Regions from separate parts of the Homo sapiens genome. Here region 2 is linked to region 1. The links are contacts of gene promoters, found by promoter capture Hi-C in blood cells and fetal thymus (Javierre and others, 2016). All regions are on one chromosome and are shown on one strand. Each heading gives the region's core, a stretch centred on a gene start or on the middle of the fragment in contact. The rest is flanking DNA. Distances are from core to core; before and after follow the strand shown. Region 1 holds the start of CDK17 (cyclin dependent kinase 17). Region 2 overlaps CFAP54 (cilia and flagella associated protein 54).

Region 1 (6,892 bases), core at 2,030-4,529:
CTAGTTTCGCCATAATTGTAGGACTGAACTGGTATCTGAAAACTAAATATATCAACAAACATATACGTTAAAATCTGCGCTTAGTCAACATAGCTATCCCTGTGCTACCGGGCAAATAAAATTTAAATTTTCTATTTTTTTTTTTATTAAAGCAATGACTTATTAGAGACTACTGGTATATGAAGCTGCAATACACATGGGGATCAATTCCTCCAATTTCATGTTTCCTTACTATGTATGTATCTCTTTTTGTTTTTTCATTCTGGTAACCAGAGTACATATGACAGGCTGCATTATTTCAAATACCTAACACTGAAAGTTACTTTCTGGCCTGAATCTAAGGATGAGAATGATACATTTTATAGAAGCTTCTTTTAGTACAGCAATAGGCAAATTACGATATTAACAAGACTTTAATTCTACATTTACATTTTTTTCTCATTGTAAATGTAATGTGAAACTTATAAAATACAGGAAAAAAATGTTTAATCACCAATAAATCCCACCATTCGTAAACCTTGCTACTTTTTGGTAGATTTCCATCTAGTAACACTGAAGGTTCAATTTTCTAATTCGATACTGATAAATATGCAGGAAAAAAAATCAATGGAGCCTCAATATGGCCTTTCAATAAATGTACATAAAACAACAATTATTAATTATATGACCTGTTAATTTCACAAAAGTCTCTAAAATGTTTTAAGTGGTGGAGTAGGGTAAGGAGTCCATAATTCAGACACTAGCCCTCAAACTGAAATCTCTTCCACAATGTTTGTATGTCAACCCTTTAACGGCAGTGAGCAGCAAGCTATGACTGTTCGTACAGTGATATCAACATTAATGTCTCTATATTAAACAGGCTTTGCTTTTATTTTCTTTCCATTTATACTTCAATAGTGTTTTATTTTCACTGTAAAAATAAATAATAACCTATATTTGCATAGTAATTTTACATAAGCTTAAATTCAAAGACTCCCGTTTTTTTTTAAGCCAACCATTCAAACTGTTAGTGCTTCTGGCCTATGAGATGGTTTACCAGATAAAGTAACATTCTTTATATTCCAATATTCTCTCTCATAACATAAAAAAGAATTTAAGGAATATCCCTTAGTCACATTTTCTTTTGTTCCAACCCACTGTTTATGGAAGCATGCAGATGTTAAGAGTTGCAAAAATTGAAATGACTTCATTAACAAAGCAACATCCCAACGTTTAATGTCAACTCCTCAGACTCATAAAAAAATGAAACAAAACCAATTATATTACCACTAGCAAATTTTTTCCCCTTAAAATCTAGTTTCGTCTTATTTCTAGTTTCAAGGCAAGCTTTGTCTACCCAAGGTATCAAAGGTCTTCAAATCTCATTCATTTTCTTCTGCCCAAGAGTTAAGAAAGTAAGTCTAAAACAGAACAAGCCAGATTTGTTGCTGTGATCTTCTCACACGAACGCCTTTTAAAAGAAATCTTTCAACAAAGACTCAAAAAAGAAACAGCAAAGTTTGGGGAAAGAATTGTCTGTCTTTAGGTCAAGCATTTCCTGATAAGTGACTGAAGGTCTGGCTGCCAGGAATACACTTTGCTGACCCTAGGAATGGCCAAGTCTCAAAACAAAATTTGCCTCTTCTGTATCTTGAAAGTGACCTGTTAGGACCTGATGTCAATTTGACGAAGAGGTGATAGAACATGACCAACGAGGTGTCTTTGGTGGACATATTCATGTAAAGGAGGCGAGAGCCACAGATTTCAGCTAAACGCTTTTTGCCACTTTTGCAAAAGAAAAGCTAATTGTTAACGGCCATGTGACATTATAGATCCCAGAAAAGGAAAGGGTGGGAGGAAGAGAGAGAAGTTCAAGGCAGTTCAGGGTCAGAACAAGCTCAGACATCCTGTCATTAACAAATGTTCCCCAAGCTGAAAGCAAAATACTGCTTACCCGAAAAGGAGTGGGTGAAAAGTAGGGGGAGAACGAGGGAAAAACCACAGGAGAGTCAATGTGGCAGTGTGGGGGTGACAGGAGGGAGGGAATCTGGAGCTATCCAGCTGAGTTGGGGAGCAAAAGCATCGGGCATAGCATCGGGCACAAAAATGCTGAGAAAAGCAACTGCGACGGAGACAGCACTAGGCACCCTCCTCCCCCCATTTTCCCCTCCCCATCGGTTTGCTGGGTTTCCCACCTTCCCTCTACCTCCGCTCTTGACCAACACTCCGGGGTGTGACCCGCCAGCAGGAGGCTGCCCTGATCTTTGTCTCTACCCGCTCCCACGCGCGGGCTCCTCCTCCTCCTCCGCGCTCCCCACCCGCGCACAGCGCCAGCGTCTCCAAGGAGCTGCAGGCGCCGCGACCGCCGCCTCCTCGCCCACCTCCCGCGGACCCGCGCCCCTTCCTTCCCCTCCCGGGCAGCGTCGCCTGCGCCTCCAGCTCCACCCCCGCCGAGGGGACCTTTGTGTCTCGGGGGACTTTCTGCCTCTTTCCCCTCCTCCGCCTCGCGAGGAGACCGGCCTCCCCCGCAGACCAAAGCGGCAGCGAGCACCGGAGGCGGCGGCGTCTATATCTGTCGGCGCCTCCTGGGAAGCAGCTCGCAGACACTCACACCCCACCCGAGCCCCGGAAATCCCCGGGCGACCCAAGGTCCTCGCTGGACCGGAGAGGTGACAGGCGCACGCTAGCCCCCCGCGCCGCGCCTCCTCGCTCAACTTCCCGACCGGGCCTGAGCCACCCGCGCCCCCAGTAGCCCCCGCCCCCGCCTCTGTCCCACGCAGCCTCCCGGCCCCGCGGCCGACCCGACACCAGGGGAAAGCGCGGCGCGGACGCCAGCCGCCAACTCACCAGCAAGAGCGGGGACCGCGGGTCCCGAGGCGAGGCGAAGAGAGGCGCGGGGGGAAGCTGCTCCGCGGACGCCCGCGGCGACCGGATGCAAGTCCGGGTCTCAGCGGCCGGCAGACGTGAGGCGCTTCCGAGCGCAGGCCTCCGCCGCCACAGCCGCCTTCCGGCTCTCGCCGCGGGTCCGGAGCCTCGGGAGGGGCCGCGGGTGTCTCACGCGTTGCCAAGTCCCTCGGTCAACATGGCTCCCGCGCCGACGAGCCGCGCGGACGGCCCACTAATCCCCTCGGAGCAGCCGGGCGCGAGCGCGGCGGGCGCCGACGGCGGGCTGAGACTGTCTGGCCGGGCGCTGGCTCCTTCTCCGCGGCTCTGCGGCGGCCCGCGGGGAGCTCAGGAGACTGCGGGCGGCCGCGTTCGCTCCTTGCGTGTGCGTCGCTTTCACACTCGGCGGCTGCGGATTGACGCCTCCGCCTGTTCCCCGGAGGAGAGCGAGTGCAAGAGAAAAAACACTTTTATTGAAACGATCCAACCAGCGGCGGCGGAGAAAAGCGACCGGCCGCGGGAGCTTACCCCACCCCCGCCTGAGCGGCTCGCCGGGGGCAGCGCGACCCCTGCCGGCGGCGGCGGAGGCGGGGGCGGGGCCGGCGGCCGGGGGCGGGGCCTGCAGGGCGGGGCGGGTGTCCCCGGGAAACTGCCCGCTCCGAAATGCGGGCGTCGGGGGAGCGGCGGAGGGGGCCAGGGGACCCCACCGGAATGAGTGCCTGTCCGCAGCGACTGGGGGAGAAATTATGTGAATAATTCAGCCCCTCCAACATCCCCCTGCCCCTCAACTTCCCGCTACCAAACCAAAACTCGTGCTTCAGTTATACAAGTAATTACTGTACAAGGTGTCCATGCCACAGTTCTCCACTGACTTTCTAGAGAGTCCATGTCAAAGGACCCACACTGAAAGATGTTGATGGCTGCAACTTTTCTCCTTTGTTGTGTGTGGGTACGTGGGTACTAGTGCCGCAGTCTCTCACACACACGGCATCTATTCATTTAAACTACAGTACAGTGTTTTGTATATATTATCATGTGCCCGGCAATATGCTGAGTCCTCTAAGGACGGAGAGTCTAGCTGGGATGAAAGATGATCAATAACTATCATAAAAATCTGAACGTTATGAGCGGAGAAATACAAGGTGCTATGAAAACAGAAAGGACTACTGTTGCACGGGTTAGGTTTTGTTTTCTTGGGGGAGGCGGGCCGCGAGAGGTTGGCCCAGTTTCTGCAACTGTTTTTACTTTCTCCTTTCCCAGAGGCTAAAAGCTAGTTCAGGAATGAACAGCAGAGTGGCAGTGAAGACAAACTAAAGTAATACTGACCCACTTTTTTCCACTAATAAGGATAAAAGCATAAAGTTAAAACAAACTTAAACCCCTAGAGGGAGATAATGAGAGGATTGAAAGAAGAGAGTAGGGACCGGATGTAGACAACATAAACAAGAAAAAAAAACCCACATAAAAGTCCTGTGAAGTGAGATAAATTTTTTTTCCCATGTTAACACCCGGAAGTAGAAGCTGCTTTGAAGTTTCAAATCACATTATGTGCTAAGAACTTCGGGGAATTATCTTTTTGGATTTAGGGATGAATCCTTTCCCCCTTAAAAATGCTGCATGCTGACATCTTTCTCTTATTTTGTTTGGCAAAGTTAAATGCATCTACAGTTATATCCAACGATCGTACGTGTCAATCAGGCTTTTCCCATGCCTCTAAAATTACCAGGACCCGTAAATTAGCAACAATTATGCTCTACGCGTATTTAACACTTGTTTACCAACCAAGAATGCAAATATACATAACAAGCTTTCCGTTAGAACAAGTGCGCTTTGTTTAAAAGCACTGTTAATGAGGCTTTTTAGATTTGTCCAAGTCAAACTTGGAACTTTATAATATAGCAAGATGTAGCATCATTTTCAGAGTTCTTTTTAAGTTAAAGAGAAACACTGATATTTATACAAGGCCTATTTATATGAAAGGATTTTCATATACTTGCCTCATCTAAATTAGTACTTTAGTAAATATCAAAAAATCACCAAAAAAGGGAGTCTATGAAATGGCATTCTGAGTTTCAGCATTAATACTTATACCTTCATATCATTAGATTAACATTACTCCATGAGAAATAAAAAGATTATTCTGTCTCATCCAAAGCACCCTCTCCTCTTTCTACATCTTTCATTAGCATAACAAAGAATTCGTAATTGGGAGGCTGAGGTGGGAGGATCCATTAAGCCTGGGAGGCGGAGTTTGCGGTGAGCTGAGATTCTGCCACTGCACGCCAACCTGGGTGACAGAGTGAGACACCGTCTCAAAAAGAAAAAAAAAAGACGAATTCATAATGAAAACTTAGGTGATTATTTGATTGATTGGTTTGTTATTTCTTTTTTTTTTTTAAGACAGAATTTTGCTCTTGTTGCCCAGGCTGGAGTGCAGTTGCGTGGTCTCAGCTGACTACAACATCCGCCTCCCAGGTTCAAGCGATTCTCCTGCCTCAGCCTCCCAAGTAGCTGGGATTACAGGCATCCGCCACCACGCCCGGCTAATTTTTTGCATTTTTAGTACAGACAGGGTTTCACCCTGTTGGCCAGGCTGGTCTCAAACTCCTGACCTCAGATGATTCACCCTCCTCGGCCTCCCAAAATGCTGGGATTACAGGCGTGAGCCACCGTGCCTGGAGGATTTGTTCTTTCAATGAAAAAAAAAATTACAGATTGCACAATATTTATTTCATTACTTTTCATATTTATTTATTTATTTATTTATTTAAATGAGATGGAGTCTCACTATGCCGACAGCCCAGGCTGGTATTAACTCCTGACATCAAGCAATCCTCCAACCTCGGCCTCCCAAAGTGCTGAGACTACAAACAGGAGCCACCACCCCTGGCCTATTTATTTATCTGTTTATTTATTTATTTTTAGAGGGAGTCTTGCTCTGTCACCCAGGCTGGAGTGCAGTGGCATCATCTCAACTCACTGCAATCTCCATCTCCTGGGTTCAAGCAATTCTCCTGCCTCAGCCTCTTGAATAGCTGAGATTACAGGTGCCCATCACCACGCCCGGCTAATTTTTGTATTTTTAGTAGAGGCGGGGTTTGGACATGTTGGCCAGGCTGGTCTCGAACTCATGAGCTCTAGTGATCCAAAGTGCTGGGTGAGCCACAGCACCCAGCCCCATGGCCTATTTAATTACTTTTCTAAACCGATTTAAAATTTGGCCAGGCGCGGTAGCTCACACCGGTAATCCCAGCACTTTGGGAGATCGAGGCAGGTGGATCACTTGAGCTCATGAGTTCGAGACCAGGTTGGCCAAAATAACAAAACCCCATCTCTACTAAAAATACAAAAATTACCCAGGCGTGGTGGCAGGAGCCTGTAATCCTAGCTACCCAGGAGGCTGAGGCAGGAGAATCGCTTGAACCCAGGAAGTGGAGGTTGTAGTGAGCTGAGATCACACCACTGCACTCCAGCTTGGGTGACAGAGCAAGACTCTGTCTGAAAAAAAAAAAAAAAAATTATATGTAATATTGTGAGCATGTTAGTTGTTTTTTCCGTAGGTTGTAATATAGGCTTTTTTTTTTACCTTGTAAAACTATGTTAAATTATAAAATTACTTAGAATATTTCCCTAACTGTCATTAATAGATATTCCATAGTGCTTAGTGGAGGAGAAAGATTGAGGAAGAATTCCAAGATCAAATCCACTTGAGGAATGCCACATACTTTATCTCCCTTTTGGAAATTCACAATATACATTTACGTATTTAAGGCTCTTAGAAGTTCTGAGATTGAAAAATAATCTTCTTTCCAGTGAAACAAGTATATCCCAAAATGTTTTCACCATAGAATAGCTATATCATGTGACATATATAAAAATATTGAGGGGAGAAAATTTTGAAGGTCATTGAACTTTGGACAAAGAGAGTTAAATGTGGTAAGTCCAGAAAATCTTTGCTGGGATTCACATTCTGAAAATGACACTGTCTGGGAAACAAATATGAAACTTTCAGGTAAGATACAAACAAGAA
Region 2 (6,892 bases), core at 1,548-4,047, 130 kb after region 1:
TTGATAAGTAAATAAGATGTTAAGATATTGTTTTATGATAGAATGATACACATGAGTAACAAAAATTTTAACATGGTAGTCCATACATAGGAAACTGATAACATTTATATTGTTTTTTTTTTTTTGTTTGGTTGTTTGTTTGTTTTTGAGATAAGGTCTCTCTTTGTCACCCAGACTGGAGTGCAGTGGCGTGATCATGGCTCACATTGCAGCATCAACTTCCTGGGCTCAAGTGATCCTCCCTTCTTAGCCTCCCAAGTAGCTGGGACTACAGGTGCATGCCACCACACCTGGCTAATTTTTGTATTTTTTGTAGAGACGGGGTCTCACCGTGTTTCCCAGTCTGGTCTCGACCTCCTGGGACAAGCAGTCCACCCATCTCAGCCTCCTAAAGTGCTGGAATTACAGGTGTGAGCCACTGTGCCAAGCTGATATAATTTATATTGATCTTGAATTCAGAAACCTTGCTAAGGTCAATTGATATTTCAAATAATGTATTAGTAGATTTTTGGGGGGACTTGTTTTGTATATACAGTCATCTATGAATGACTTATTTCTGTCCAATCCTTAATCTTTTAATTTCTCTTTTCTTGCATTTCTTGATGGTTGCACTGGCTAGGATCTCCAATAACACATGGGAAGAAGTGGTGATAGCAGACTCCTTTGTCTCATTTTTTTCCTCAGTTGGAAAGCTTTCAACATTTTGCCATTATTTGAGATATCTACAGAATAATTTTTATAGATACCCTTTTGCAGATCACAGATGTTTCTTGTATTCCTGGTTTGCTAAGTGTTTTTTTTTGTTGTTGTTTTTAATCTTGAATAGTTTAATTTTAGCAAAAGCTTTCTCTGAATTTATTGAGATTTACTGAGTCGATCAAATGGCTTTCTCATTTATTTCTATTAATGTGGTTGATTTTATGGATTGCTTATTTCTGCTTCTCTGTTGAAGGGAGAGACTTTTCTTTCTTGTAATGTTATTTTTAGGTTTCGCTCACAAGGTCATATTAGCCTCATAAAATGAGTTGAGAAGTATGCCCTCTTTCTCCATTATCTGTAAATGTTTGTGTCATATTGGTGTTATTTCTTCCTACATGTTTAGTTGAATTTTCTGGTGCAGCCATCTGTACCTGGAATTTTTTGTATGGCAATATTTTAAATGATGAATTCAATTTCCTCCATAGATATAAAATTTTTCAGATTTTCTTTTCAGTATTGGTCAGTTTGCTTTCTCTCTTATTTCATCAATTTCACCAGGGGTCCACCAGTTTCATTAGTCTTTGCAAAGAAACAATATTTGACCTTGTTGATCTTCCCTATTGTATGTCCATTTTCCATATTATTGATTTTTGCTCTTCATTACTTCCTTTATTATACTTTCTTGGGTTTGCTTTACTGATTTAAAAAACTTATTGACTTGGAAGCTTAGATCATTGATTTTTAGGATTTGTTATTATTTACATTAAATGCATATTAAGACATTTGTTCTAAATTCAGCTTTAGCTATGTATCTGAAGTTTTGATATATCATATCTTTATTACTATTGGAGTAAGAATATTTTCTAATACGCAGTGTGATTTATTCTTTGATATATGGGTTCTGAACCAAAATATGGGAGATTTTCTAATTATCTTTTGGTTACTGATTTCTATGTTAATTATACTATGGTCAGAGAGCACATTATGTATTATTTGGAACTGTGAACATTTGTTAAGATAGGCTTTATGGCCTAGCACATGACCAGCTTTGGTAAATAGTCTGTGTGTACTTGAAAGACTATGTATTTTTTGTTGTTGTTGGATGCATTGCTTTATATATATGTTGATTAAGTTAAGCTAGTAAATCATGTGGTTAGATCTTCTCTATCCCTACTGATAGTTTTTGTCTTTTTATTTTATGAATTACTCAGAGAAATATGTTAAACATCTGCTATGCATTTCTGTTGGTGTGGAATTGCAAGAGCATGGGATATTCCCATGTTGCTTCATTGGATACTGTTTTACAAAGTGGTTTTTTTTAGTTTGCACACCCATCAACATTTTATCAGGGTTCCATTACTCCAAATTTTCTCTGACACTTAGTATTATCTGTCTTTCTCATTTTGTCCATTTTGGTGTGAATTCAGTGGTGTTGCAGTATAAACTTAAATTTCTCTGATGACTAATAAAGTTAAACACTTTTTCATATACTTTTTTCACTATTGGATATCCTATTTTGTGAGGTGCCTATTTTAACCTTTTGTCCTTTTTTCTGTCGATTCATAGGAATTCTTTATCTATTCTGGATATAATTCCTTTATTGAATACATGTATTGCAAATATCATTTCTTACTTGATGGCTTGCCTTTTCATTCTCTTAATGATATCCATTGGGGAACAGAAATTCTTAATTTTAATATAGTCCAATTTATCAATATATCCTATATAGTTGATCCTTTGTGTGTTGTGGTTAAGAAGTTTCAGCTACCCCAATGTCGTAAATATATTCTCGTATGTTTTCTTCCATAAGTTTTATTGTTTCTTCCTTAAGTTTATGAGGTCTATAATTAGAAATTAGATCTTTTTTGTTTATACGAAGTAGAAATCAAGATTTATATACTTCTATATGTATATTCAGTTGACACAGCACCATTTATTGAAGATAACTTCCTTTAGTTGGCTGCAGTATCCCTTAGTCATAAATTAGGTGGCCGTATGTGTGTTGTCTGTTTTTTCACTCAGCATAATTCTCTTGAGATGTATCCAGGTTGTGTGTATTAATAGTTCACTTGGCGGGGTACCATGGCTCATGCCTGTAACCCCAGCCCTTTGGGAGGCCAAGACGAGCTGATCCCTTGAGCCCAGGAGTTCAAGACCAGCCTGGCTAACATGGCGAAACTCTGTCTCTACTAAAAATACAAGAATTAGCCAGGCGTCATGGCATGTGCCTGTAGTCCCAGCTACTTGGGAGGCTGAGGCAAAAGAATCATTTGAATCCAGGAGTCAGAGGTTGCAGTGAATGGAGATCACACCACCACCACTGCACTCCAGCCTGGGGACAGAACAAGACTCTGTCTCAAAAAAAATTTTTTTTCACTTGTTACTGCTGAGTATTATTTTATGGTATGGATACACCACAGTTTGTTTAACCACTTACCCTTTGAAGGACATTTGAATTATTTCCAGTTTTTGGCTACTAGAAATAAAGCTGCTATGAACAGTTGAGTACAAGTTTTTGTGTGAAGGTAAGTTTTCATTTCTCTGGAATAAAATGCTCAACAGTGCAATTGCTGGATTGGATATATGATAAGTTCATATTTAGTTTTGTGAGAACCTGTCATACTATTCTCCAGGGTGACTCTACTATATTTCCACCAGCAATGTGTAAATGATCCAGTTTCTGGACATCCTTGACAGAATTTGGTGTATCATTACTTTTTTATTTTAGCCATTCTGATAGGTGTGTAGTAATATCCCACTGTGACTTTAATTTGCATTTCCCTAATGGCTAAAGATGTTAAACAGTTTTTCATGTGTTTATTTCCCATCTGTATACTCTCTTTTTCTCTAGTGTCTTTTGTTCACTTTCTAATTGGATTGTTAATTATTTCTCTTGAGTTTTGAGAGCTCTTTTTATGTTCTGAATACAAGTCCTGGTCATTGCTTTTTAAGACAGAAAATACCTTTATTAAGATTTTTTTCTCCTCATCATTACTTCCCATTTTTCATTGCTTCTTTCTAAATTCATTTCTTTTTGCTGAAATACAAACTCTAAGAATTTTGAAGTAGTTTGGCTGGATATAATAGTTTACTTACAAGTTTCTTTAAGATTTTGATGCTCTTTTTTATAATCTTGTATATATAGTGTTTCTGTTGAGAAGTGTAATGTCAGTTTAAATCTTGTTGTTTTATAGATGTATCTTTTACAATTTTCTCTTTCTTATGACATTCTTACATTTTATTCTACTGGATCTAGGGGTGGGTTTAGTAATGCAGCAGATACTTTGAGGTCATATCTTTCTTTCATTTTTTCATGTTACTTTTAAATTTCTTTCCTTATATTCATTATTTAAAAAAAAAATCCTTCAAGGCATTGAAGATGCCATTAGACAGATGTTAACAGGATAGATGTTCATCCTCCATGTCTTATTTATTTTATTCTTTTCATGTCTTTATTCTGTTGCATTCTGGGAAGCTTCCTCTATCTGATTTTTCAGGTCACGAATTTCATCTTTGATTCTCTCTGTTCTACTCTTCTGTTTACCTATTTAATTATTTGTTTCAACAATGATATACTTTTTTGTTATTTTTGTTGTTTGTTTGTTTGAGACAGAGTCTTGCTCTGTTGCCTGGGCTGGAGTGCAGTGGCACGATCTCAGCTCACTGCAGCCTCTGCCTCCTGGGTTCAAACGATTCTCCTGCCTCAGCCTCCCGAGTAGTTGGGACTACAGGTGTGCACCACCACGCCGGGCCAATTTTTTGTATTTTTAGTAGAGATGGGGTTCCACCATGTTGGCCAGGCTGGTCTCAAACTCCTGACCCCAGGTGATCTGCCTGCCTTGGCCTCCCAAGGTGCTGGGATTACAGGCATAAGCCATCGCACCCGGCCATCAATGATGATGTACTTTATACATTGAATCCACTTGGTTCTTTTTTCACAGCAGTTGTTCTTGCCTTATGTTTCTAATATCCTCTTTTATTTTTCTGAGAGAACACTTTCACTTAAATTCTTGTTTGTGCTTTTCCATTTTCTTGCTTCTTGTGGTAAAGGATGCTTCATTTGTGGTTTTTCTTTCAAGATGTTTTTGCTTTTAATTTTCTTTTCCCATGAGCTTTCCTTCTTGGAACAATTAGCTGACTTGGCCTTAGTGTCCACCTGAGAGGAGGGAGAAAAGCCTAGGGTTAGCTCCTATGCCTTTAGGTGAGTTTAGTGTGTGGGTGTGGGCACATGTGGGTGCACATGTGTATGCGAATGCCCATCTGAATGCAGGGAACTTCTGGTGCCATAGTTTGGGCTCTTCTCTTCCTAAGAAAAATACAAGTTTTAGATAAGAATTTCCTTGACTTTCTTCACCCAAACCCCCAAATTTACCCTCATGCATATTGATCCTTTCCCACTATCTCTCATTTAAATGGAGGAGAGGGGATGTTTCTCTTTGTGTCTTTAAGCCTAATCCCTCCAAGTGTCCAAGTGGTCCCATTATACCGTGCCCTTTTTTTTTGAGACAGGATCTCACTCTGTCACCCAGGCTGGAGTGCAATGGTGCGATCATTCTTCACTGTAACCTGGACCTCCTGGGCTCTAGTGATCCTCCTACCTCAGCCTCCTGAGTAGCTGTGAATACAGGCATGTGCCACCATACCTGGCTAATTTTTGTATTTTTTGTAGAGGTGGGGTTACTCCATGTTGCCCAGGCTGGTCTCGAACTCCTGGGCTCAAGGGATCCACCTGCCTTGGCCTCCCAAAGTGCTGGGATTACAAACATAAGCCACTGTGACTGGGCCTCCGTGTTTTCTTTCAGCTTCCTCCCTATAGGTCTTCTTCTTGGTACAGCCAGATTTATTGACGGTATTGTCTGTTTTCATTGTTCCTAAGTATTTTCTTTCTACTTATACAGTGGGCAGACTCTAGCACTCTACTAAGAATGTCATGGACAACCTTATTGCTCAATCCAGGGGTCACTTTCAGTTACTTTCAGTTACTTTTCTTTTCTTTCTTTCTTTTTTTTTTGAGAGTCAGGTTCTTGCTATATTTCTCAGGCTGGACTCAAACTTCTGAGCTCAAGTTATCATCCTGCTTCAGCCTTCTGAGTAACAGAGACTATAGGTGCACGCCAATAAGCCTGGCTAGTCCTTTTCTTCTTTACTTTCTGTATCTATGTGTTACTGTTGAGTACTCCTTTCTTTCTAAACACTCACCTTTGCAGCCTTTATTCCCTCTGCTCTTCTCTTAAATGTTGGTGTTTCTTATTATTCTGTGCAAGGCAACATGATCCATGGCTGAATCTACTATTTACTGTGGATGTATAATGATGACTCTAAAAGCTCTATCCCCATTTTAGATCTCTTTCCCAAGTTTCCAACCTGTATCTAGGAACTCTTGCTCATTCTGTGTTTGAGATTCCATTCTCTTTCCCCTGAGTATCCTTCCCTAACTGCCCTCCTTCCCCACATCTGTGTTGGATGCCCTTCCTATTTGTCCCTAAAGCACCACCCTGTATTTGCCCACTAAGATTTCTTGTTTCCCCCACTAGAACGTAAATCTTATGAAAGCAGGGATTGTGTTTTCCTGGTGCCTGAAAGTGTCTATAGTGAATATTTAATAAATATTTATTTGCATGAGTGATATTCAAAACTCTCTTCTTCCTTTCCTAGTGTCAAATATTGGTGCAGATGGAATGCTTGATTTTCCAAAAACATCTCTTCTGGAACTTATGATAGGAAGAAAAGATGTTATTTCTGTGGATGCTGCTGTGAAATTTATAAAATTAGCTTTTACCTATGAGGAGTGGAGTTTATTTGAATCTTCTGCTGTACATCTTATTTATTTTCTCCAGGTAATATATGCAAAATTATCCTCCTGGTTTTTTTTTTGTTAAAATGACATCCAATTACTAATTAACGTGTGGGATATACTTCCCCAAGAGGCAGGATGATCCAGAGTCAAAGAAAGCAGAGAAGGATTTAACTCTTCTGATTGCAATGGAACCACTAATCAACGTGAAGAGAAACAAAGGTTTGATCTTTCCTTTGGAAAACTATAAAGAAGGACAGTCAACTCAAATTTATTTAAAAAAAATTGCTGTTCATGGTAAGTATTTATTTGTTTGTTCAAAAAATTTAGTTTGACGAAATATGCTCTTTTATAGATATGGTGAGAGAAAGGATGTTGAAGGCGGAGGGAGCAAGAGGT

Evidence for each region. Contacts are between HindIII fragments. The CHiCAGO score rates a contact against its expected background, and 5 or more counts as called.
Region 2: a contact is called between a fragment that was not itself captured here and the fragment with the promoter of CDK17 in region 1, in 4 of 17 cell types (neutrophils, total CD8 T cells, endothelial precursors and 1 more). The highest score is 9.2, in neutrophils.

The regions. Positions count from the first base shown.
Region 1 is chr12:96,397,160-96,404,051 of GRCh38, forward strand. CDK17 (cyclin dependent kinase 17) reads right to left here and starts at 3,280. Exons shown (of 17, transcript NM_002595.5): 1 at 2,827-3,280. RefSeq lists silencers at 2,684-2,843, 3,024-3,203, 3,294-3,623 and an enhancer at 4,044-4,263. The HindIII fragment of the contact is 3,343 bases long and covers 1,325-4,667 here.
Region 2 is chr12:96,527,438-96,534,329 of GRCh38, forward strand. It overlaps CFAP54 (cilia and flagella associated protein 54), which reads left to right. Exons shown (of 68, transcript NM_001306084.2): 9 at 1-7; 10 at 6,355-6,536; 11 at 6,625-6,790. Among named protein-coding and RNA genes, the nearest start is that of CFAP54, 41 kb to the left of the region's middle. The HindIII fragment of the contact is 2,750 bases long and covers 1,423-4,172 here.